Regions from separate parts of the Homo sapiens genome. Here all the other regions are linked to region 2. Evidence: promoter capture Hi-C in human tissues and cell types (Jung and others, 2019). All regions are on one chromosome and are shown on one strand. The core of a region is centred on a gene start or on the middle of the fragment in contact, and the rest is flanking DNA. Distances in the headings are between cores, read along the strand shown.

Evidence for each region. Contacts are between HindIII fragments. The study calls those that stand out against the background at their distance.
Region 1: a fragment that was not itself captured here is called in contact with the fragment with the promoter of COL8A2 in region 2 in 1 of the 25 tissues and cell types used here (adrenal gland).
Region 3: a fragment that was not itself captured here is called in contact with the fragment with the promoter of COL8A2 in region 2 in 2 of the 25 tissues and cell types used here (lymphoblastoid cells and spleen).
Region 4: a contact is called between a fragment that was not itself captured here and the fragment with the promoter of COL8A2 in region 2, in 3 of the 25 tissues and cell types used here (adrenal gland, dorsolateral prefrontal cortex and spleen).

The regions. Positions count from the first base shown.
Region 1 is chr1:35,919,121-35,925,162 of GRCh38, reverse strand. It overlaps AGO1 (argonaute RISC component 1), which reads right to left. Exons shown (of 19, transcript NM_012199.5): 18 at 5,909-6,042; 19 at 1-5,664. The coding sequence ends at 5,556. Among named protein-coding and RNA genes, the nearest start is that of AGO3, 9.0 kb to the left of the region's middle. The HindIII fragment of the contact is 4,306 bases long and covers 2,553-6,042 here.
Region 2 is chr1:36,122,592-36,128,197 of GRCh38, reverse strand. COL8A2 (collagen type VIII alpha 2 chain) reads left to right here and starts at 2,976. Exons shown (of 4, transcript NM_005202.4): 1 at 2,976-3,141. RefSeq lists a silencer at 5,464-5,606. The HindIII fragment of the contact is 15,339 bases long and covers 1-5,606 here.
Region 3 is chr1:35,883,256-35,889,333 of GRCh38, reverse strand. It overlaps AGO1 (argonaute RISC component 1), which reads right to left. Exons shown (of 19, transcript NM_012199.5): 1 at 5,888-6,078; 2 at 724-907. The coding sequence starts at 5,912. Among named protein-coding and RNA genes, the nearest start is that of AGO1, 3.1 kb to the right of the region's middle. RefSeq lists enhancers at 2,216-2,275, 2,913-3,552 and a silencer at 5,903-6,078. The HindIII fragment of the contact is 3,416 bases long and covers 2,407-5,822 here.
Region 4 is chr1:35,974,093-35,980,117 of GRCh38, reverse strand. All of the region lies in intron 5 of AGO3 (argonaute RISC catalytic component 3), which reads right to left. Among named protein-coding and RNA genes, the nearest start is that of AGO3, 46 kb to the right of the region's middle. The HindIII fragment of the contact is 3,961 bases long and covers 1,765-5,725 here.

The DNA of each region.
Region 1 (6,042 bases), core at 3,456-5,955, 200 kb after region 2:
TCACTCCCTTCATGAACCTTCTTCTACTCTGATTTCTTCTCCTACCTCACCAAACTGGCTAAACAAAGAAACAAAAAACCCACAAACTGTCTACCAGTGATCTGTCACCTTAAGATCTGCTTCCTCCCCCGAACCTTTAAATTGAGTTTCTTAGGGGGCTGTATACTAGTTTCTCTTCTCTTTTTCTAAGCTATCTCATTCATGCCTATGGCTTTAACTACCATCTATAAGACTCCTGTATCTATAAATGCAGTTTTACAGTCTTACCTGAGCACCAACCTGTGTTTACTGGACACCTTACCCTTACTGCCCCACAAACACCTCAAAACTCAGTCTATACAACATTCTGTTTCTTCAAAAACTCCCCACCTTCCTTCTACAGTCTCCCCGTCACCCCCATCTTGACTGGCAGAATGTCCCAACACACTCCTATGGTCAAGGAGAAACCTGGGAGCTAACCTCTACTCCTGTCTTCTCCTCCCACCAGCCATCGAGTCCTATTAATTCTACCTCGTCTCTCAAATCTGTCCCTTCCTCCCTATATTCGTTGTTGTAGCCTTATTCCACTCCCTCATTATCTTCCTCCTATGCCAGGGGACTATTTGGCTAATCATATCCCCCACCAAACTTAATTCCCTTAATGAGACGGACACTATTTTCCTCATTTTGAATTGTGCCTCCCCTCCCCACAATACTGCTGGCACAGTGCTTTGCATGTTTGTTGAATGAAGAATAAATGAAGGCTCTGTGAAGTATTCCTGCATAACAATCTACAGTATTATTCTCACCTAAAATCTATTAGAGATGTAATCAGTCCCAAAAGTTTGTTTTGCTGGTAGGAAAAAAAAAGAGAAAGACCGCACTTTAGAAATAGAAGCCACTGTTGTCTTTATAAAACACAGAATTGTGCTGCTGCTGCTGCTGCTGCTGATGTTGCTTGCTTCAGAAGGAACTGTACATTACAGCTGCTGGGATAATTTCACAATGGACTGGACAAGGTACAGCTCAAAGCAGGACACAAACACAAATCTCAAAGGGAAACAAATGCAAACAAGTACACAGCTGTGGGGATCCAGAGACATTTCCCCATCCATGCTGGACTTGAGAGGGATAAAAAGTTTAGAAACTAAAGTGAAAACCAGAGTAGTCACACATGCCCACCACATGGCTGCTAAGTGCAACATCACATACCAATTAGGCTGGACTGTGTGCACAGGAAAGTAATTTCATTTTTCCTTATTGCTACTACACCAAGGGACTCAGTGCATTCAACAAATGTCTTTACTTGCACAATTCTTGGAGGGTTTCCTATTTTCCTCTGTAAAGAAGAAAATCTCCCTTTCCCACCTCATTCTGTTTTGTTTTTAGCTCATTCCTTCCCCTCCCTTTCTTGGATGCCCAAACAGCAGCCAGAGGCTCTAAGTCAGTATGAGTAGAGTAAGGGAGAGCACCAACCCAGCCTCTCTCCCTGCCCAGGGAGAAGGCAAGTCCTATTAAGTCGGAGGAAAGCGAAAACCAGAAAATACCTCCTTCCCAATCTGCTTAGAAGGCCAAATAGTAAAAAGTGCCCTGCATATCCCTGCCATGATCAGATTTTAAGAAGGAAGGTATTCCAGCTACCATCCTGGATTGGCCTAGGCCCCATATATAAATAAAAATAACGTCCCCCAATGTAGTTTCCAAAACTGCCTTTTGGCTAGTTTGAGATGATTTTTCTACCCTGATGGGGAAGAAACGTCCAACCTTGTTAGTTACACATGATTCCAGGTCCAAAACTGTCCCACCAGCCTTACAGATATCCTATGGGCCAGCTAATAGTCAGTGCACCCTTGGCTGCCCATCTTGAGTGCTGGCCTTATTCACAAACAGAAAAAAAAAGTATCCAAAAACACTGCTGCTTAGCTAAATAGGAGGCCACAGAGAAGCTATCTAGCAGGTGGGCATTAGGAGCTTTTTAGGGAAGTTTCAAATTTCTAGGTACCTTCTTCGGCTTTATGTTAAGCCTAAGTTCCCAGCAACAGTAGCCCCAGGCTTATCCCTGGAGGCCAGTGTAGCACCTCGATCCCTAATGGATCAGGTTGGACTGGATAAACAATCAAAGAACAGTGCTCTCCTTTCCCACCTTTTATTCAAATTCTCTCCATTCTCTTCTCATCACTCTTTTTCCTTTATGTCCATCCCCTAACACTCAAACCCAGGATACCCAAATAGCTCAACCCTAAGACAATCTCAGAAAAGCCAGGCCCCAGGTAAAGAGAAAAAGAACCAGATTTAGAAAAAGCAATGAGAGAAACCAGCTCCAAGGAGTGGACAGGTGTGGAAAATGCCAGAAACCCTCCTGACTTCACACAAGTTGGGCAGGTCAGTTGCTCTTCTCTAGTATAAGCTTGAGGGCAGTCCAGCCCAGGTGGACATCTCTGGGCTTGGGGAACAGGTTCTTGGTCTTCTGCAGTCAAGGAGCTAAGCCTGACCCTGCCAGCTAACAGTGGGATCATTGCAGCCATGCAGAGATTTCATCATCACATAGGCAGACAGGCAGGCAGGCAGGCAGGCAGGCAGGCAGGCCGGCCAGCAAGCAAGCAGAGTGAATAGAAGAAAAGGGAAAGGAAGCCAGGCAAAGAGAGAAGAGGAAAAGGAAGGCAAAACAGTGGTACAAAGGGAACAAGAGACCCAACTAAGAGGATGAGGCTGGGGGTCCCCCAAGCACTTCCTTGAAGCTTGGGTAAGAAGCACCACTTAAACCAAATCCACATGAGCCAAAGCTTGCTGCCAACACCACTTCTCCATCTGCATGCACCACCTTTCAAACAGGAATAATCTCAAGGTCGGGGTATTTTTCAAGTCTCAAAAATTATCTTTTTACAAAAAAATCAGAGTAAGAACTCATTTCTTGTCATTGCCCAAAGCTGATTCTCTTGCTTTTTATTTCTTGAATGGCATAAGCCACGTCAAAGGGCTAAAAATGCATTTCAAGCCCCAGCTGAAAACCAACTGGAGAGAGTGAGGCAAAGAGAGAAAAGGAGAGAACACAAACTTGTTGCTGGGAGTAGAGGCTGCCACCTGCTCCCTATGGACATTTGCAAATGCTGGTGAATGACTGGACCCTCCAGGAATAGTGCCCTGATCCTAGCCCCAAAATGTATCCAAGTGGAGAACATGCAGAGCCCACTGTCCCAGGAGAACTCCCCTCCCCAAAGGGTGACAGAACACGAAGTAGACTGTATATGAAGGCAATGGACAGGGCAGATGGAGTGTTAGCATCACTCTCTTTAGGCACTTGTGTAAGGAATGTAGGCTCTCCAGTGAGCTGCCTCCTCCCAGAGCCCTCCATTCTGTTCTTCAGCTGGGCTTGTGCCTATAGGGCACCCCATGCTGTAGCCAGCAGGAAAAAAGTAAAGGAGGAGTTACTCAACAGTCCTGATGCTTTCTCCATAATGAATGTTTGTGCTACGTTTTGTGAGTTGCTGAACAATGTAGCCAACCAGAACAGAACCTGGGATAGATTGTTTTGCATAGCAAATCCGGGTCATACAAGGGCAGCTAAGGGGAGGAAATGGTAGTTCTAACTCTACAGGCCAGGATTTAGACCCTTCTTCCTCCAGCTGGCCTCCAAGCCTGGGCTAGGTCTAAAGTAATCATGGCTTCATCACCAGATCAGGATAGATCCAAGCCCAGGCTCCTCAAAGAGGAAATTCCACACTGAAGTTGCAACTCCCCATCCCAAGCAGTGGGGCAGGAAAAAAATGAACAGTCAAGGAAAAAGGGCAGGGGGGATGCTTGCTTCAAGGCCAACAGAGACCAAGCTAGAACCACCACCTTCTCCAGTCCTGCAAGACAGCCAAACCCCATGTCTCAAGACAAAAAAAAAAAAAAAAAAAAGTCCATGCCACCCACCCACATGCCCTAGTGGGAAACCAGGAAAAATTCATTTTTGTAAACAGAAGCAATAGGGAGCAGCAAAATTCCCCAGCCTGTCCACAGGACACACTGCAATCTAGGATGAGCCAAAGGGTCAGAGGACAGTCCAGGGGAAGGAAAAAGATGCACTTGCAAGAAAGAGTGCAGGACAGTGCAGAGGAGGGAGGCTATAGCAAGAAAAAGGTATTATCTGCACAGAGGAAGGATGGAGCCTGGACCCCATCTTGGGGCGATAACCACCCCCTCCCTACCTAGCCAGGTCAGAGAACAAATCAGGTACACAGTTCATTCTGATGGCTCAATGTTTCTGGGATATAAACTCATCAGGCATGGGAAGGATTTCCAAATTTTGGCAATACACTCAAGTTATGGTATAAAAATAACATTTTGTTTTCTCTCTTTTTTCTCATTTTAGACCTAAGAGTTTTTTGTTATAAGACACCCCAGTTAAGAAATATTGAAACATAAGAGACTTGACCATCAAGGGAGAAAAGAAGCCAAGAGTGAAAAATGCTATGAAAGTAACTCCAGACCTGGGCGGGGCGGGAGGTAGGAGGAATAAGGAGAAAAGGAGGCATAAGTGGAAAGGCCAGGGGCCTGTCATCTCAGCAGCTCCGAGACTTGTCATGTTTGAAAGTGCAAATGTCAATGGATTTTAACCATCTTGAGGTTGTGATCTTTTAAAAAGCTCAATGAATGAGGAAGTCAATTCCTTCAAATGCAAAATAGCTGGCTTTCTGGCTGGAGGTTTGTTGGGTCTGGGGTATTTCTTCCCCATCTACCTCCTCTCCCACCCCCACCCCATTCCCCAAAGAAAGGTACAAAAGGTTGCAGTTCTGCAGCATTACCGTTACAGGGAAGGCACTGGTTACCCACCAGCGGGCGGAAGGAAGACAGGGTCGTGTCACTTCAAAGCTAAGTGCCATAGTGCCTTAAGTATTACTAGGGGCTGGATGTCTGTCAGGGAGGAGAAGTAAGGTGGGGCAGAAAATGTGGACAGAGAGGAATAAGGGTAAGGTGGGGGGTGGCAGCTGGGGGAGGAGCAACCAAAACCATTAAAAAATCTTCCTACAAACTGGATTCTGAACCCATTAAAACATCTAGTATCCTAAAATATTGATCTGGGTCTGGTTTCATTTTTCTTCTTAAACAAATCTAGTCCTTTTCTGATTAAGGCTCCTAAAAAATCCTTCCCTCCTCCCACCCACTTTCTCAAGCCCCTCACTTTCCCATCTAAAGTATCAAACCCAAACCTAACCAGCTTTTGTCTGCAGGGCTACAGAGTTGACCTTACCAAGCTGTCAAGCATGAGTCTTTAGCACTGTGAGTCACATGAGACACCTGTGTGTATGGTGGGCACCAGTGCTGCCCCTTTTGGTCCAGTGGGGTCAGGGCCAGATGTGACAAGATGGGGTGAGGGGTGGGGGACATGAGGTTGATATCAGAGATTTCTGGCTGGTGGTCTGTCTTGCTGGCCCTGTTCCCCACTCTTACACCACCTCTATAGAAGGAAACAAGGCATCCTACACTCCTCCCTACCCCACCTCCCTCCTCCTTGCTTCCTCTGGATTTGGGTGGCACAGCTCCTGGGGCTTGGAAAGCTTTCTTCTATCCAGTGAGGTAACAGCGTTCTGCCTTCAAGCGAAGTACATGGTGCGCAGAGTATCCTGGTGAACCTGCACGGCTTTGGCCAGGGCCTGGGGGTCCCGCCCATTGCTCTGCCCCGATATGTGGCTCCCCTCTCCACTGAAAAGGAAAAAATGAAAGAAGTCCTTCCTGGTGAACTGAGAGCTGCTGCTAATTCCCTCGCCCAGCCCTGGGATGCCAATTCCCATACCAACTTAAGAGAGAAACCCAACCCAGGATTGGGCAGACGAGCCCAATGACACCAAATTGGACAGCACTCATTTCCTTCTACCCAAGGAAAGTTAAGAAGATCTGGCACAATAGGCTGAAGCAAAAAGGAGGCCAACCTGATCCCAGGCCTCACCTGTCATGCTCCTTGTCCACCAGGTGGTATCGTGCCCGGAAAGCCACCAGGCGGGCATAGTAGGCAGGTGCTGGGATAGAGACAGAGCGTGTGCATCGTACGTAAGTGTGGCACAGCTGGTACGTCAGGATCTG
Region 2 (5,606 bases), core at 1,727-4,226:
GCTGGTTGAAAGGAGAAGGAGCTGCAGCCCTCCCTCCCTGCAAAGCACTGGGCAGGGGCAGGTGGGGCAGGGGTTGGGGGGAAAGGGAGGGGATTGGGGACAGGTGTGTACCTCATAGAATCAGGCCTGAGGGCCCCAGGAAAAGTGTAAGGAGTGAGTCAGGAGACCCAGGGGTGGGATCTGAGTGGGGGACCAGCTGAATTTGTGTCTGAATGTGGGTGTGAAGCCCATGGGAGTCCCTTTCCCACAAAGCATGCCCCTCCCTTGCCCGTTTGTGTCACCAGGCCCCACTTCATGCAGCGCTCCCTCCCTTCTCTCTAAACAGCTCACACTCAGAGTGAAGTGCTCTGCATGGATTGACTGTCATCCTCACAACATGCCTATGAGAGCTTCCCAGATGGAGAAACTGAGGCACCAGAGGTTAAGTGTTTGCCCAATGGCATGTGGCTGGTAGGTGGTGGCACTTGGATTTGAACCCAGGCAGTCTAACTCCAGGGTCTTTGCTGTCAACCTTTAGTCCCTGCTGCCTAGCTCCCACCCCCTCCCAGCCCGTCCCCATGCACACTCAGCCCCCATCAGATCCCCATGCAGGGTCTGGTTTCCACACCAGCTTCAGGGTCAGAACTCTGCAATCTCCCCTCAGTCGGTGTCCTCCTAGGCACCCTGCCAGCCAGGCCCCCTCCCTTCTCTGGGCAGTGCCCCAGCCTGGCTCCCCTGTAGTTCAGGCCAGGAGGCCAGACCCAAAGACCCCTGGCAATTGCCCCCAATTCTGACGGGTGGGATGGAGTGGGCCAGGCTCTGACGGTAGGTGAGGGTGAGAGGCCCCGTTGTGGAGTGGCGGGGCTGGTGTGTACCTTGGCAGGGGGACAGAAAAGTGGGAGGCCCTCAGAGGGCAGGCAGCAGAAGGGGGAAGGTTGAGGGGGGTGGGCCCTGACCCGAGACAGCCTGGGGCCCTCCCTGCTCCTTTCCTGGACCTGGTGAGGGCTCTGCTCTTTCCCACTGAAAATACACACACACACAGCCACACTCACCCCCACACACAGCCACCCACACCCCCCCACAGACACACAAACACACACACACACTCCCACCCACACTCACACAGCCACACACACCCACACCCACAAACACAGAGCCACACACACACTCCCATCCCCACACACAGCCACACACACACCCATACCCACAAACACACAGCGGCACCCACACACCCACACACACAGACACCCATACCCCCAAACACAGCCCCCCACACACACTCCCACTCACACCCCCCCACACAGCCACACACACAAAGCTACAATACACCCACACAGCCACACACACCCACACAAAGCCACATAGCCACATCCACACACCCAAATGCAGCCACACCCCCCACACCCCCCCACGCACATACCTCCCCACACGCACACAAATACACACCCCCACCCCTCCACACACCTACACACATGCTGACCCCCCACCCATGCGCGCACACACACACTTGCACACCCAAGCACACATACCTCCACATATGCCCACACCCACCTACACGCATGCACACACACACCCAGGCACGCACACACACACACATGCACACACACACACACACACCCACCTACACGTACACACACAGGCACGCGCACACACACATGCACGCACACACACGCCCACACCCACCTACATGCACACACAGACACCCACACTCACCTACATGCACACACGCACACAGACACACACACACACACACCCCAAAATCCTTTCCTGACCTCATCTCCCCTTCCCTCTGCACTTGCTGCCTCCTCCTTTCTCCCCTGCTGCCTGGCTACTGCCCCTACCCCCACCCCAACCTCCAACCCTTAATTGCTGTCCCTAAGAATGTCCTTCTGTGACAGCCCATCCCGTGGGCCTCCCTGGCCTTCTAGAAGCACTCTGCCTTTGCCTTCTGGGACACTGCTCTCCCGGTCCCTGCCATCTTCTCAGTCTCCTTTGCCGACCCCTCTCCCTGGGCAGCCCCGTGAATGCTGATGAGTGTCCTGCCCGCGCCCTGCCCGCCTCCCTGGGCCCGCTCCTTATTCTATGGCATCAGTCGCCATCTGCAAACCGTGGATTCCTCCTCGCTATCCCAGAACTCTCACCTCCCTTCCGGATCCATGGAAGTCCCACAGGCTCATCCAATTCATTACATCCGTCCTCCTTCTTCTCCTAGACCCTGCCGCCCCCAGGCCTAGCCCAAAGCCTGCGCACTGTCCTTGACACTGCTTCTTCCTAGGCCCCTCGCCCAAACTCTGCCTAGTTCGCCTCCTCACTCCCCTCACACTGGGCCCTCCCTTTCCTTCCCCCTCACTGTGCACCTCATGGGACCATGCCAGGGTATTCCCGCAGCCTCCTCGGTGGCCTGCCTCTATCTTCCTCCACACAGCTTCGGGAGGCTCTTTCCAAAGCACACATCTGACCACGTGACTGCCCTGCTCCAGAGCCTTCCGTGACTCCCCATTTCCGAGGGACGAGGTCTGGCCTGCTCCCGCCTGCCTCTGTGACCCCGGCTCAATGCCCTAAAGCCTGAATGTGCGGGTCACGACTGGCCCCTGTGAGTCCTCCGGGCTCAGCCTACCGAGGTCACGTCTGCAGGCAGCCTTCTGGGGACTCCTCACTGGGGGCCACCAGCCCGAGCTGCCCCTTCCCTGCAGGACCACGCCTGGCCGTCCTTCTCAGCAGCCGCGTCCGTCCCCACAGGCAGGTGGCCCCTCGAGGGCAGGGGCTGCGCGGACTCCCCGGCGGCCGAGCCGCGGGTCAGGTGGACGGGGAGGGATGGGGGCGGGCCGCCCGGGAGCGCGTGTGTGGAGGGGGCTCGGCGTGGGTGTCGGGGAGGGAGGCAGCCGTCCGAGTCCGCGCTGGGCGCGCTGGGCCGGGCGGGGCGCGGGCCTTGGCCGTGGCTGTGGAAAGAGGAGGGCGGAGGCCCCGCCCCGACGCGCCCCTCCTGCCGCCCGCCCACTCCGGCAGCCGCGAGGGGCGGCCGGCAGAGCGACGCGGAACCCCGCCGGCGCGGACCCCGGACCCCAACGCCGCCCGCCCAGCCGCGGACGCCCCTGCCCGGAGCCCTCGCCGCCCGGGCCGCCCTCGAGGGCCGGGAGCGGCGCCCGGCGGCCGCGCCCGCAGGTAAAGGCCAGGAGGCGGGCACCGGGGCTCGGGCTGGGGGGCTCCGAGGGCAAGACCTGGGCTGGGCTTCCCCCAACACCATGCGGGATAGCAGGGCCGGCGCCTCGGACTCCGGGGTGGGGACGCGGTGGGGGACTCGGGCCAGGGGGTCGCCTTAGAATGGGGGAGCCCATCCCGTTCCCTGTGCCCCGTTCCCTCCCCGGCAGGATCCCAGTAAAGCCCCCTCCTCCCTTCCTCTCCCAGAAGCGAGGGCTCCAGCATAAGACAGTGCCGGGTGCAACCCCCGACGATGTGGCTCTGGGCGCGTCACCACCTCCCGATCTCCCGTCCCACCTGTAAAGTGGGGATAAAAAAGCCGCCTTCACAGGGTAGTGGAGGAGAGAGGAGGGAGTGAGGGGCCTTAGCATCCCCCCGCTCTCACTCCTGCCCCCATCTCTCTGCCATTGCTGATTTGCTGGAGACCTTCCAGTTATAAGGTTTTTCTGCCTTAGCCCCCAGGTTCCTCCTATTCTAGGTGCCCTGTCAGTCCCCTCGCCCCAAACTGAAGACAAGTTCCCAGGAATGTTCCTGTCAGGGGCTCAGCATCCCCCCAGCTCCAGACTGAGACTTGCAGGGGGTGAGGGGCCGCTGCCTGGCCAAGAGGGACTGGGGTCCCAGGGCCCCAGAACAACCTCCCAGTGTCTCTGCCCTGGGTCTGGAGCCACCCTAGCCCCGGAAATCCTCCAGGTAGAGAAATGCTATTCAGCCAGAGGGCCCAGGAACGCTATTGCCACGGGGAAAACTTTGCTGGTTGTATGTGTGCACGCACGTGTGTGTGCCTGTGTGAGACCATGCTGGGTTCCTGACACAGACGTGCGGCTGACCTCCTTAGGGGTGCCGGAGCAACCAGAAATCATCCCTCCTGTCTGCTATCAGTACCTCTTGCTCAGGCTGGCAGCAGGGGCTCATCCACTCCTCTTAGCAGAGTCCCCTTGGCAAGGACAGCCTCCCAGCAGCTGTACTGGGCATTTGAAAAATCTGGGGGCCGTGGAGCTGGATGGCTGGAGGGTCAGGCAGCCTGGGGTTCCTCTCTGGGGACTGAGCTAAGATCGACTGATCCTTACTGCCCCAAGCAGAGGGGGCCGCAGGGCAGGAGTTGGTGATCTCTGGAGAGACACCATGGTTGGTGGTCTCCATCAGGGCACAGGTGCTGTCACTGGCTTCCCAGTGGACTGGTGAACACCTACAAACCCTTGGACACACAATGACCCTAGATGATAATGAGGAGAAACCACAGACATGCTCACCCAGCCACACACAGCCTTGCACCCTTCTGAGAGCCATGCACAGTCACACACCGACCCAAACATTCATTAGATTCATGCGGACACCCTCCTCTAATGAAACATACACCACCACAAGACACAGGCGGACACATGCACACACACCCAAACTCCTACAGACACATGGCAGGCCCCACGTGGCCCAGCCAGACATACTCAGACAGGACGGCACACACACACATACGCTCACACCCAGACACACTCACCAGGGTCTCTTTCTCTGGTTTCACTTCGTCTACCACAGTGAAAATGAGAATTTCCGCTCTTTGGCTCAGAGGAAGGGGAAAGAAAATATGGAAGTGAATGTGTCTGTTAGCAAGAGGGAGGAGAAAGATACTAAGCAGGGCTGTCAGCCTGAGCCCCTGTACTCCACTACCTTCTCTGCTCCTGCCTGAGCCGGAACAAAGGACGCACAGCCCCAGCTTCCTTGCCCTGCTGGCCCCCCAGCCCGCTCCAGAACTCTCAGTGGCAGGGATGGGGCACCTCTTACAGGGAAGTGGGGTCTCAGATGCGCTGGTCCCATCCGTGGCAGGAGGAAATTATAGTGTCGGGTCGGAGGAACGAGAGAGACACAGCGGCCTCTCCTCTGGGGTGTGGCTGTGGTCTCACGGTGCCCTACTAGGTACCCGAGGAGGGGCACCATGCAAGCCAAAGTGCAGATCAGGGAAGGTGGCACCTAAGAGGTAATCTGGCCAGGGCTTTCGAAGATGATAATTTTGACAGGTGCAGGGGGTGGAAAGGGTGAATGGGAGGGTGTTCCTGGCTGAGGGCACAGCTCGTGCAGAGGTGTGGAGGGGGAAGCTTCAGGGTTCTCTCAGGGACAGTGAGTAATGGGAGTAATGGGCACTGTTGGATCACACTGGGGAGTGGGAGGGACTCATGACTTTGAGGTCAGATTTCTAAGGGCCCTGTCTAGAGAAAGGGTGTGAGCTGCGAATGATATAATCTGGGAATCACTCTGGCTGCTCTGGGGAACAAGGATGAAGGGGGGATCTTCGAGGCAAGGGAGATCACAGAGGAGGCTGGGCAGAGTTTAAGGAGAAAGGTGACGGGGGATGAAGTGGGCGGTTGCCATGGGGATGAGAGGAAGAAGTAGATGGAAAGGAGTAAGCCGGTTGGCGATGGGGCCAGAAGCCTTGCACT
Region 3 (6,078 bases), core at 2,865-5,364, 240 kb after region 2:
GCTGAGCCAGGAGAATAGCTTAAAGCTGGGAGACAGAGGTTGCAGTGAGTTGAGATCGCGCCATTGCACTCCAGCCTGGGCAAGAGCAAAACTCCCTCTCAAAAACAAAACAAGAGAAAAACTCCCTCTCAAAAAAAAAAAAAAAAAAAAGGAAATATCACTTCCTCTAAATAAGGCTAATCCCTCCAACTGTGCATCCTACAACGTCCTTCTGCCTCATCAAGGACATCCCATTCATTTCTCCCCTCTGTCCTTCTGCCTCATCAAGGACATCCCATTCATTTCTCCCCTCTGTCCTTCTGCCTCATCAAGGACATCCCATTCATTTCTCCCCTCTGTCCCATACCTTTAACCTCTCCCTCTTTACTAGCTCCTTCTCCTTAATCTGTAAACATACCCATATCTCATTCTTTAAAACTCTTTATTCATTCAACTAATATTGAAATGTAGTAGGTACTGTACTTATTTCTTAACTCAATGTAGTTAGATTAACTAGCTCAACTACTTTCTGCTGAAATTGCTCTGGCAAAAGCCACTAATAATCTTCCAATAGCGAAGTCCAATTGGACTATTTTTCAGCATTTACCCGACGTGGCATCTCCCGTTCAAAAACTTCCTTAGATTTGGTGATACTACCCTCTACTGGTTTTTCTTTTACCTTTCTGGCCCCTCTTTCAAGGTTGGTGTCTTTCAGATTTGGTGGCTTAGGTGTGCATCACTTACCGGTTGACTCTACGGGGACACTTATCCGGCTTGATGTCCACCTCGTAGTGGTACACGTCGATCTTAGGGATGTCCACCTCAAAGTAATTGGCCAGGAGCTTGATTGGTTTCCCCACAGTGCCAATGCCAGGCCGGCGAGGTGCCTGGAACACCTGCTGCAGGGGGGGCAGGTAAGCGCCCGCAGCTACAAGACAAAGAGGCTGGTGAGGGTAAAGTCTGGCAATCTCCTAACTACTCTTATCAGAGGAGGAACAAGGCCTCCCAGAACAGGAACACGAGAGTATAGAGAATGCCTCTTTCCTGCTACCCAACCCAGCCAAGGGCTTCCAGGGGACATCTCAAGCTCATCTGTGTTTTTTCTCTTTTTTCTTTTTTAATCTCTCTCCAGTTAGGAAAATTATCCTTATTGTCTATTTTTAATTCATTAAGTTAATATATAATAAGTTCCTATTGCATGTTAAGCAGAGAGACTAAATCTGGCTCCTAGTAACAAAACCCTTTCTTTCTTCTAGTAGAGTAAGACACTTGCCTCCACCAGGTATCTAGCAGACCAAGAATTTCTATTCTCTGCCAGCCAGATGCTCACTCCATTCGCCACCATGCTGAATACAAAATGGCATAACCTTGATGTTCCTTTATAGGTGGGCAGGAATAAGATCCAGACAAGGCCAGGCTGGAGAGGGCAGGGTCAGTGTTTGAGGCAGAATTAAGGCAACTGAATGGCGAGAGTTGGAGACAGGGAAAAGGAGAAAAGGCTCAAAGGACAGAGTTTGGAGACTAAGGAAAAGAGAAAGGGGGTTGGAGAAGAGGACAGAGCTGGAGGTCACAAAAGAAAAAGGCCAGGAGAAAGAGAAGGCTGGAGTCAAGGGGTGGGGCAAAAGAGGTTAGGGTTGGAAGCTCAGGCAGGAAGAAACAAAGCAGCAACTGGGGAGACAATGATAAAAAAAAAAGCTTGAATAAAGAAAGAACTAACGGGTTTGGGAAGAAGAGGTGGCAATTAGAATGCTGGAGAAGAGACACTGGCTCTGGGAAGAACACAAGATTCTCTCCATGCCCCACAGATCCTTCCACACAGAAGGTCCAGACAGCAGCAGAAGAGATCAATTTCAAGACAGAGGAGGCCCTTGGGAAAGGGATAGGGTAAGGCCAGATCCAGCTACTTTACCCTCTTTTGCCAGTCTGGCTGCTGTCTCCAGTCTTATTTTCTAGCTTGGGGGGAAGAGAGAAAAAAAGGGAATAATATGCTGCTATTGTTCTTGGCAGTAGAGAACTAGCCCAGGTGGGAGAAGAGAGGGATAAACCAGCCCAGAACCTCCCATTATCAGACTTCTGCTTTCACAGTCAGACAAGCTGGGGGGATGGGGCATACCCTCAGCTGGGGGTCAGGAAGAGGTCAGAACCATTCATGGGAGGGGCAGCTTCCCAGAGCTAAGCTGCTCTGTTTCCCTCTAACCACCTGTCCAAGCCCAGTCCCACTCTGCAGACAGGGAAATGAAGGCCCAGCCTGGATGGAAAAGGTCTTCAGAACTCAGCTACATGGGGAAGGGAAAACCTATCTACTAGCACCTGGCTGCCTACCTCAGAAAGTGCTGGACAGAAATTGCACACAAGCTCACGGACAGACAGACACACATCCCCATCACACACATCCAAACACACACTTAGACCTTGGCAATTTACACTTACACACATATCCTTCACTGCCCTAGACTGAGTTCTTCAAAGGCAGGGACTATATCTGCCTTGGTCACTGTTTAATTTCCAGTGTCTGACACACACACAGGAAGTATTCAACATACTGATATGAAATGAATGAACAAACATATCCATAGACACACCACAAAAACACACAAGCACACACAGCACACAGACACACGAACACCTGCAATTGCCCAGAAACAATTATAAACACTACACAAGACAAATATGCACGTTTGTGGGTGTAGCCAGTAAGAGACATCCTTTCCCTCCCCAAGTTCTTATATTTCATTCACCTTCTTCCCCTCCCAGACTGAATAATCATTTGGGGCCTTCGGAGAAAGATAACTCCTAGAGCTGGGGGGCTAGTTAGAAATGATGGGGGATGGGACAGACACTCTAGCCTCAAAGCCTTCTCTTCCCCAGAAACCCGACTACATACCACACATAGCCTTAGAGCACCTTCCTCTCCAAAGAGGCTTTGGGAAAACAGGGGAGCCCACACCCCCACTTCATCTCCAAACTAGGAAAGACAGCAGGAAGCAGGAACCTCTCTCCCATTACATCCCCCTGAAAGCCTAACAACAGCACTGTCTCCTCCCCGCCCCCCTTACCCCAGCTTTTAGTCTGAGAAAGGGAGACACTTCCCTACAGACCCAGACAGGGACAGACGGCCACTTTGTGATGCAGATGAGGGCCCCAGCACAGAGGACAAAGCTTGGGCCTAGGGGGAAAGGGGCGGGACCCTTCTCTTCAGACAAAAGCAAGGAGGGAGGGGCCCTGAAAAGGACACTCCCCCTCCCCCATCCCCAAGGAGCCCAGAGAAGGAAAAGTAACAGAGCTGAAAACCCTGGCTCAGGATTCCTTTCTTGCAGTTCTGAGGCCCACACACCTCCCAAGGAGCCAGACTGCCTATTCAAAAGACACAAATTCAAGGTTAGGTTAGGTTAGGTTAGCTGGTGGGCAAGCAAAGACTAACAAGCCAATCTCTCCAAAAAGGATCTGTTCCATGTGAGTATACACTTTATTAAATATCCACATACGTGCTTAACCATTTATGTTCACACTTGAATGTGATTTGATTTAATTAATAAACATGTATTCTGTGCCAGGGCCTATACACTAGGCACTTGCTAGTTCTACAAATAAACCAGACACTGCTTCTACCCTCAGGGAGCACCCAGTCCACTGTATGTGCTTGGAACACACCTGAGCACAGAAGGCAGACCTGGGCATAAGCCCAGTGAGGCTAGCAACAATGCTTTAGTTTTTGGGGGGTTTTTTGTTGTTGTTTTTTACACAACGCTTTAGTTTTGTGTATTATGTCCTCAGGCCACCTTGGGACACCACTCTAACTTCTTATAAGAGAACAGTCCGGGCCTAGGAAGGAGGCAGTTATGGGGTCCCTCAATTTGCAGCTTCCAGACTGAATCTCAATTATACCCTTTACTGAGGCAAAGCCTGTCCTATTCGGCTTTTCCCAAGGCTTTGGCTGACTCCAAACAGCAGGTTCTAGCTCCTTTCCTATAAGCTTATTTTTTGTAACAAATTTTTAAAAAGTCAATTTTTCATCACTCCAGAGCCTATTAGGAATTCATCAGGATAAAAATCATTAGTCTAGAATGGGTACCAGCAACCAGCAATCCATGTGGACCTCAATGACCTACCCCACTACTCTAGTTCATGGGTTGTTGGAAATAGTCCCCAGCCTTGAAAAACAGAAGTTCCTGGGATGGAGAGAGGGTCCTGACAGAGAGGAAGTACTCAAGTCAGTTGCTCCCTGTGCTTATCCTTACGACTACACAGTCTATACAAGGCTGGTTGTTAAGAGGGAAAACAGTCACTAAGTACTTAGAGATCACTAAATGGATAACTTGAGTGAGGTCGTAGGAGCTATTTCCTTGGGAGGGTGGGAGGGAGTTAGGTCTGCTACAAAAAAAACAAAATAATTCCACTAGGAAAGTAATGAAGTTCATGGCCTAAATGGAAATTTGATTCCCATCCCCAGACCAAATGTAAGGAAGTGGTGAGAGATGACCTGAAGGATTCCCAGGTCCAGGCTCCTCGTCCCATCACAGGGTAAGACACTTAAGACACAAGAGGTATCACCACCCCACAGCCCATCCTAAGGACTCCAGTTTTCTTGAGGCAATCCTGCCTCAGTTTATCCTCTGTTCCTATGTCTTTTCCTCCTCATTGCCTGCAAATAAGAAGTTAAGGCTATCACCTAGGCCTCACCAGGATGAAGGCTATAAACTCCCCCATCCTCCAACGTGTTTGTAGGGTTTAGATCTTGGCTCTAAAGACAGCCCTGACAGTTTCTGGGGAGTGGGGAGAGGAAAACGGAAAGATATCCAGTGGAAGATAGGAGCCATGAAAATATTAAGAAATATTAGAATAAATGTTATAAATGTAGAGTGTAACCTTAACAGACAATTCAATGGAAAATCTTTGGATTAAAAGCCCCCATCACTACTCAGTATTGGAGCAGAAACTTGCAAACCAAGCAGACAACTCCTTCCAGGTAGCCCCTGCCCTGTCCTTGATTCCTCCGTAACCAATACCTTTCCTAAGGCCTATCTTCAGGAGGACCCACCCCCAGAACCCATCGCTTCGGTCCCAGTCTTTCCTGTGGCAGAAAAATGCACTTTGGCAGCTTCCCTCAACCCATTCTTAGCAAACTGTGACTGAGGGCCAAGTGTAAGAGCCCCTAAAATGGGGGAGGGGACCATAACCATTTGCACACTGCCAGCATAACCTAAGAGAGAATGCACCCCATCAGCGCGCTCCTTTTTCCAAGCCAAACGGGGCGGGGCGGGGGGGTGTGGAGAGGTGGGGGTATTCGGACAGCCACGCCCCCACCACGTCGGGCAGCCCCTTCCAGCTGCCACCTCCGCGCATGCTCTGGAGCCTCCGCTCCGACTCCCCAGACCCACGGGGGGTAATCCCGGGACTGGGTCCCCACCCACCGCCCCCTGACCCTCGCCCTCGCGTCAGGCCCAGTGGGGCGGAGCTCACAGTCCAGCTCTGGCGCCTTCTCCCAAGAGACATTAGCCTATTCCAGCCCAGCGGAGCCCCCGCCCCCGGCATGCGGTAGCTCCAGGCCCATCTGTGTCGCCCCCTCCTCTCCTGGACACCTGGAGCCCGTCCCCTGCCACCTGCCGGGCCTCTCCGTAGGCCTCCACGGATGTCTGGGAGTCCTTCCGTGCGTGCAGGCCCTTCTCCCAGATTACTTCCAACCCGCAGGACTGTATACAGCCTCCTTGGACAAACAGCCCCCATCTCAGGGCTCTCTTCACATGGTTCTCCCCCGGAACTGCACACAGCCTCCTTCAAACTGGGCCCCCATCGTGGGAGAGCCCTTCTCCTCACTCAGGAGCGCTTCCATCACTTGGAAACCACGCTTTTCATGCGGGATCCCCCAGTCCTTGGAGCATGCACCGTTCCCCCTCCTGGGGACCCTTACCTGCTCCCGAGGGTCCCGCTTCCATCCCATATACCCGTGCGGAGGTCAGGCGGCCCGGAGACTGTGAAGTCCAGCGTGAGGGGCCTAGGTACCCCACACTCTCGCTGCTCGGGATCCCGGGCCGGGCTCGGCTCCCCTACCAAGCCCGGCCGCTCGCGCCGCCGCCCCCGCAGCCTCCGTTGCCGCCGCCG
Region 4 (6,025 bases), core at 2,496-4,995, 150 kb after region 2:
GTATCATATGAAGGTATAAGTATAAAGATAACCACTGGGGGGAAAAATCTTCCTAAGATGAGGACTACCATTTAAAAAGCACAGAAAACACAACACTCAAAGTTTCAAAATATATACAAATGTAAAAAATGGCATAAAATAATTTTACAAAACCATGACCAATGGTTGTGACTTGACAGAAAGATATGTCCTTCCTATCTATATCTGGCTTAATTCATCCACCAAACAGAAAAAAAGCTTTAAACTGACCCACAAAGCAAACCATTCTATGCTGTCATCAAGATATACCTGAAAAAAAAAGTTAAAGGATAGGATAAAGTTCACAAAAGCATGAAGTGCAATCTTTTTATTAGATAATGTAGAATTTTGGTCAAAAAGTACAAAAAGAAAGTCACTTATATAAAGGTTATAATTCATAACGAAAACAGATATGAATATATATGCTCCTAATACAGTAGCAACATTCAGAAAATGGAAATTACAGGAGATAAAAGAAGAAACAGAAAGATATTAATAATAGGAAATTTATTTATCCTAGTCTGAGAGAACAAAAAACAAAACTAAGGAAATAAATGACATAAGCAACATAATCAAACTGGTAGCTCTGATGGATATTTCACTCTAAACTAATATATGAATATATCTTATTTTCATATAGCCATAGAACTATCACAAAAATTGACCGTATATTGGGCTACAAAAAATACCTCTAGAAACTCTAAAAGGAAAAATACAAACCACATTTTTTTTTTTCTGAGAAGGAGTCTCATTCTGTCCCAAGGCTGGGGTGCAGCGGCGCGATCTCGGCTCACTGCAAGCTCCGCCTCCTGGGTTCACGCCATTCTCCTGCCTCAGCCTCCCAAGTAGCTGGGACTACAGATGCCCGCCACCACGCCCGGCTAATTTTTTGTATTTTTAGTAGAGATGGGGTTTCACCGTGTTAGCCAGGATGGTCTCAATCTCCTGACCTCGTGATCCGCCCGCCTCGGCCTCCCAAAGTGCTGGGATTACAGGCATGAGCCACCGCGCCCAGCCACAAACAACATTTTTTAACAACACAATGAAACTAGAAATTCACAACAAATCCAGAAAACAAAAAGATCTTCAATCTGAAAATTTGAAAAGTCTCTCAAACAATATTTCAAGCACAGAGGAAATACAAATGAAATTTGTGGAGTTTCTAGAAAATAATATTATGTATTTCTAGTTTCTAGAATATAATAAAAATACTACATATTAGAAGCTTTGTAATACGGCTAAAACAGTGATCACCAGAAAAATAATTGTTTTAAATATTTCCACCAACAAAATGAAAGTACATGTTACTAATCTAGCTAAAATAGATAGAAAAATAACTTTTAAGAATAATTCCCATTGTCAGCAAGGCCTTACTTTCCTCAACATCAGTATTGTGTCCTAATAACAGACCAGAAAACTGAGCCTCCAGAATCCCCAGGAAGCTGCTCTATCCTCAAAGAATAGTAAGACTGTTGTAACTTGCTCTGTCTGTAAACACACTTCAGGAAGGAAGAGGAAGTTGGCAGATATATTTTCAAATGATCTTCAACACAATTCTTGAGAGTTTTCTAGTGAGTTTAACGTTAATAAAAAAAAAAATTGTTTTCAGGCCAGATGCGGTGGCTCACGCCTGTAATCCCAGCACTTGGGAAGGCGGAGGGAGGCGGATCACCTGAGGTCAGGAGTTCGAGACCAGCCTGACCAACATGGTGAAACCCCATCTCTACTAAAAATACAAAAAAATTAGCTGGGTGTCGTGGCATGCACCTGTAATCCCAGCTACTTGGGAGGCTGAGGCAGGACAATCGCTTGAACCAGGGAGGCGGAGGTTGCAGTGAGTCGAGATCGAGCCACTACACTCCAGCCTGGGTGACAAGAGCAAAACTCAAAAAAAATTGTGTCAAGAAATTTGGGTACCTTACATCTCTAGAAAGAGTTCATCAAGATTTTATTTCATTGATTCAAGTATTTAAGTTTAAGTACTAAATATACACCTGAGCTAGAATAATAGAAAATATTCTTTATTATAGGTTTCAGTAATTCATTAATTGGGAAGACTATGTTACCAAAAAAGAAGTCAGGGCATAGGAAAAAAGGTTAAGGATTAAACTACTTAATTAAACAATCAGCATTCATTAACTATACTTTGTTCTTAATCAGAAAGCACTCAATAAATACATTTTGTTTTCTAAAATAAATATTTATGATGCCATACCGTCTTTTTTTTAGTTTTTTGATAAGAAGTAATAGATGCTTATTGTTGAAAGCTTGAAAAAGATGGAGAAAAATAAATACCACTGAATTTCACTACCTGAAAAAAAAGTAAAAAGAACAAAGCATACATATGCAAAATAACAGACTGGGAAAACCACAAAAATACACAGAATTTCAAAAACTAATAGAAACTAGCTGGGCACGGTGGCACATGCCTGTAATCCCAGCACTTTGGGAGGCCAAGGCAGGCAGATCTCTTGAGACCAGGAGTTTGAGACCAGCCTGGGCAACATGGTGAAATCTTGTCTCTACAAAAAATACAAAAATTAGCCAGGTGTGGTAACATGTGTCTGTAGTCCCAGCTGCTCAGGAGGCTGTAGTGGGAAGATCGCTTGACCCTGGGAGGTGGAGGTTGCAGTGAGCCAAGATTACACCACTGCACTCCAGCCTGGGTGACAGAGCAAGACCCTGTCTCAAAAAAAAAAAAAAAAAAATCATAATAACGATAGAAACTACTTTGTAAAACTCTGTATAATTAAATTACATATGAATAAAATAATTTTCCAGTAAAATGTGAGCTACCAAAAGTGAACCTAAACAGCCTGAACAGACTTTTTTTTTTAATTAAAAAAAAATTTTTATGGGTACATACTAGATGTATATATCTATGGGTTACACGAGCTTTTGATACAAGCATATAATGCATAATAATCAGATCAGGGTAAATGGGGTATCCATTACCTCAAGCATTTATCCTTTCTTTATGTTACCAACAATCCAATTATATTTTTAGTTATTTTTAATTGTACGATAAATTATTAGACTGATTTTCACAAAATAAATGAGGGAAGTTTTAAAACAGCTACCTAGCAAACCAAACCAAACCAAACAAAAAACGGCAGGTCACAAGGTTTTATAGGGGAATTCTACGAAATCATACAAGAGCTGATAATATCAATACTATTTTAAAACTGTTATACATTTTAGAAAATGGAAAACTTCTGAATTTTTTAGGAAATAATACCAAAACTTGACAAAGATTGTACAAAAAAGGAAGGCTGCAGATTAATATGACTTCTGCATGTTAATTTATAAAAGGAAAGTATTAGCAAACAGAATCCAGCATCAATTAAAAGAATCTAGGAGTCCTGGTTTGGTTCAATGTTTGTTAAAAATAAGAGAAATATCACATCATCAGCTCCATAGATGCTGAAAAGGCATCTGACAAAATTTAACACATACTCTTGATAAACGTACTTAATAAGAAACAGATATTCCTTAATATGACAATGTATACATACAATGCTTAATGCTTCTAGAGCAAGAAAGAAAAAGGACGCACATTAATCACTACTATTTAATCCTACCCTGTCTAATTAGTCTATATAATCTGATAAAAAAAATTAGAGGTATAAAAATCCAAAGGAAGAGGTAAACTTATCACTAGTTGCAGGTGATGATTATAACCTAGAAACCCCAATAAAATCGCTTGAAAAAATACCACAAACAATAATGGAATTCAATAACACAGAAAGAGAGAAAGTATACAGAAATCAAAAGCCTGAATATATATAAGCAATTACCAGTTAGTATCTATAAACCCATTTAATAGCAACAAAAAGGAGAAAATATCCTGGAATAACAAGAAATGGCCTGGGTGCAGTGGCTCACGCCTGTAATCCCAGCACTCTGGGAGGCTGAGGTGGGTGGACCACCTGAAATCAGGAGTTCGAGACCAGCCTGACCAACATGGTGAAACCCCATCTCTACTAAAAATACAAAATTAGCTGGGTGTGGTGGTGCATGCCTGTAATCACAGTTGCTTGGGAGGCTGAGGCATGAGAATTGCTTGAACCTGGGAGGCGGAGGTTGCTGTGAGCCGAGATCACTCCATTGTACTCCAGAGCGAAACTCTGTCTCAAAAAAAAGAAAGAAAAAAGAAAAGAAAGAAAGAAAAAAAAAAAGAAATGTGCAAAATTTATGTGAAGCTTTAAGATCTCTTGAAAATGAAAGTAATCTTAAACAAATAGAAAGACATAGTATATTCTTTGACAGAAAAGACAACACCTTAAATATGCCAATTTGTCCTAACTTAATTTATAAATCTAATAGGATCTCAATAAAAATAACAATCTGTCCTCTCCCACTCACTGGATCTAAACAAGGAATTTCTAAAGCTTATACATAAGAATGGTCTGGAAAACCCTGAAAAGAGAAAAATGGGACTAGTCCTATCAGATATTAAAAGTCATAAAAGAAATGACTGACCAATACATATGTATGTGTGCACACACCAACATACAAACAAACTTCTGCATGGCAAAAACAAAAACAACAACAAAAAAAACATCACAATACCAAAGGTCAAAAGACAAATAGCAACCTAGGTAAAATATCTGCAACTCATGACAGATGAACAGCTAACTTCCTTAATTTAGAAAGCATTCTCAGTAAATAAGAAGACGAAAAATCCAATAGAAAAAAAAGGGCAAAAGATATAAACTAACAGTTCATTAAAAAAGAAACACAAGTGGCCCTTATATTTGTGAAAAGGTAGTCAAATACAAATTAAGAAGACACAAGAAAACTGTTTCTTGCAAATCTGATTGAAGAAAATCTAAGAGTTTGATGATTCTAGTGGCAAAGATATAAGGAAACTGGTACTCTCATTCATTGATGCAAAATATTTACTATCTCTATGGAGTGCAATCTGGCAACAATGATACAAATTACAAATATTAATACATTTGCCCTTAACTCATCAGTCTAACCGCCAGGAATGTATCTTACAGACTTATCTTAATATACATAAAATGATGTAAAATAGAAAAGTTAAAAATAACCCTAGTATACATCTAAAGAAAACTGGTTAAATATATCCCCTCCTCAATCATATATTACACAATGGTAGGTGCAGCTGAAAAAATGAGGAAACTATACCCTAATCTGGAAGGATCCAGGGATCCTTGGAGGAATGTCTAATTTCAGGTACTGGGCAGGAAATATAAGATGAGCAAGGAATATCCTGCTGTGCCCGAAAGCAAGAAAGCTTTCAAACATTTACTAATTTTCAATAGGACACTGAGCTTTTCCACAGAAAAATTCCACCTAATGCAAAAAGAATAACAGAAAAATTACCAGTTCGTAATCCCTAGTGAAATAAATAATTTGGGCCACAACGATCAGTGAACAGAACATTAGCAATTCAAAGGTTAATTAAGAAATTTACAATGGAGAGATCTCTGAATCTACTGATTAATCTCTGAACCTAGAGACTGATTTTTGAATCACTAAAATTGGGACCACTAGATACTGTGTTTCCTAATATGACACGACATAAAGCACTTAAGCATTTTGAACCAGAATGGAATGAAACTTCTAAGCTAACTTTCATTTTCAGAAAAAACAGGGGATAGAGGAACAAGGTAATAACACAAGAAAACAAAAAGACAAAATCAGATTTGAACATATTCTACAGAACAAGTGACCCAGTTTTTGTAAAATGTCAATGGCATAAAGAAATAAGAAAACAGGAAAGGAAATGGGACTACTAGATGGCAAAAGGCACAATAATCAAATGTGATGTGTGGATCTTGTTTGGATTCTGATTAGAACCAGCTAACAAGAAAAAGGCATATTTCAGACAATCAGGGAAATCTGATTGTGGACAGGTATTAGAGGGTAAAAATAAATGCTTGTTTATAATTTTCCTACATATGATAATGCCATTGCTGCTATAAGAAAATATCCATAGTTTTAGAGGTACACATTGAAGTAATAGGGATAAAATAAC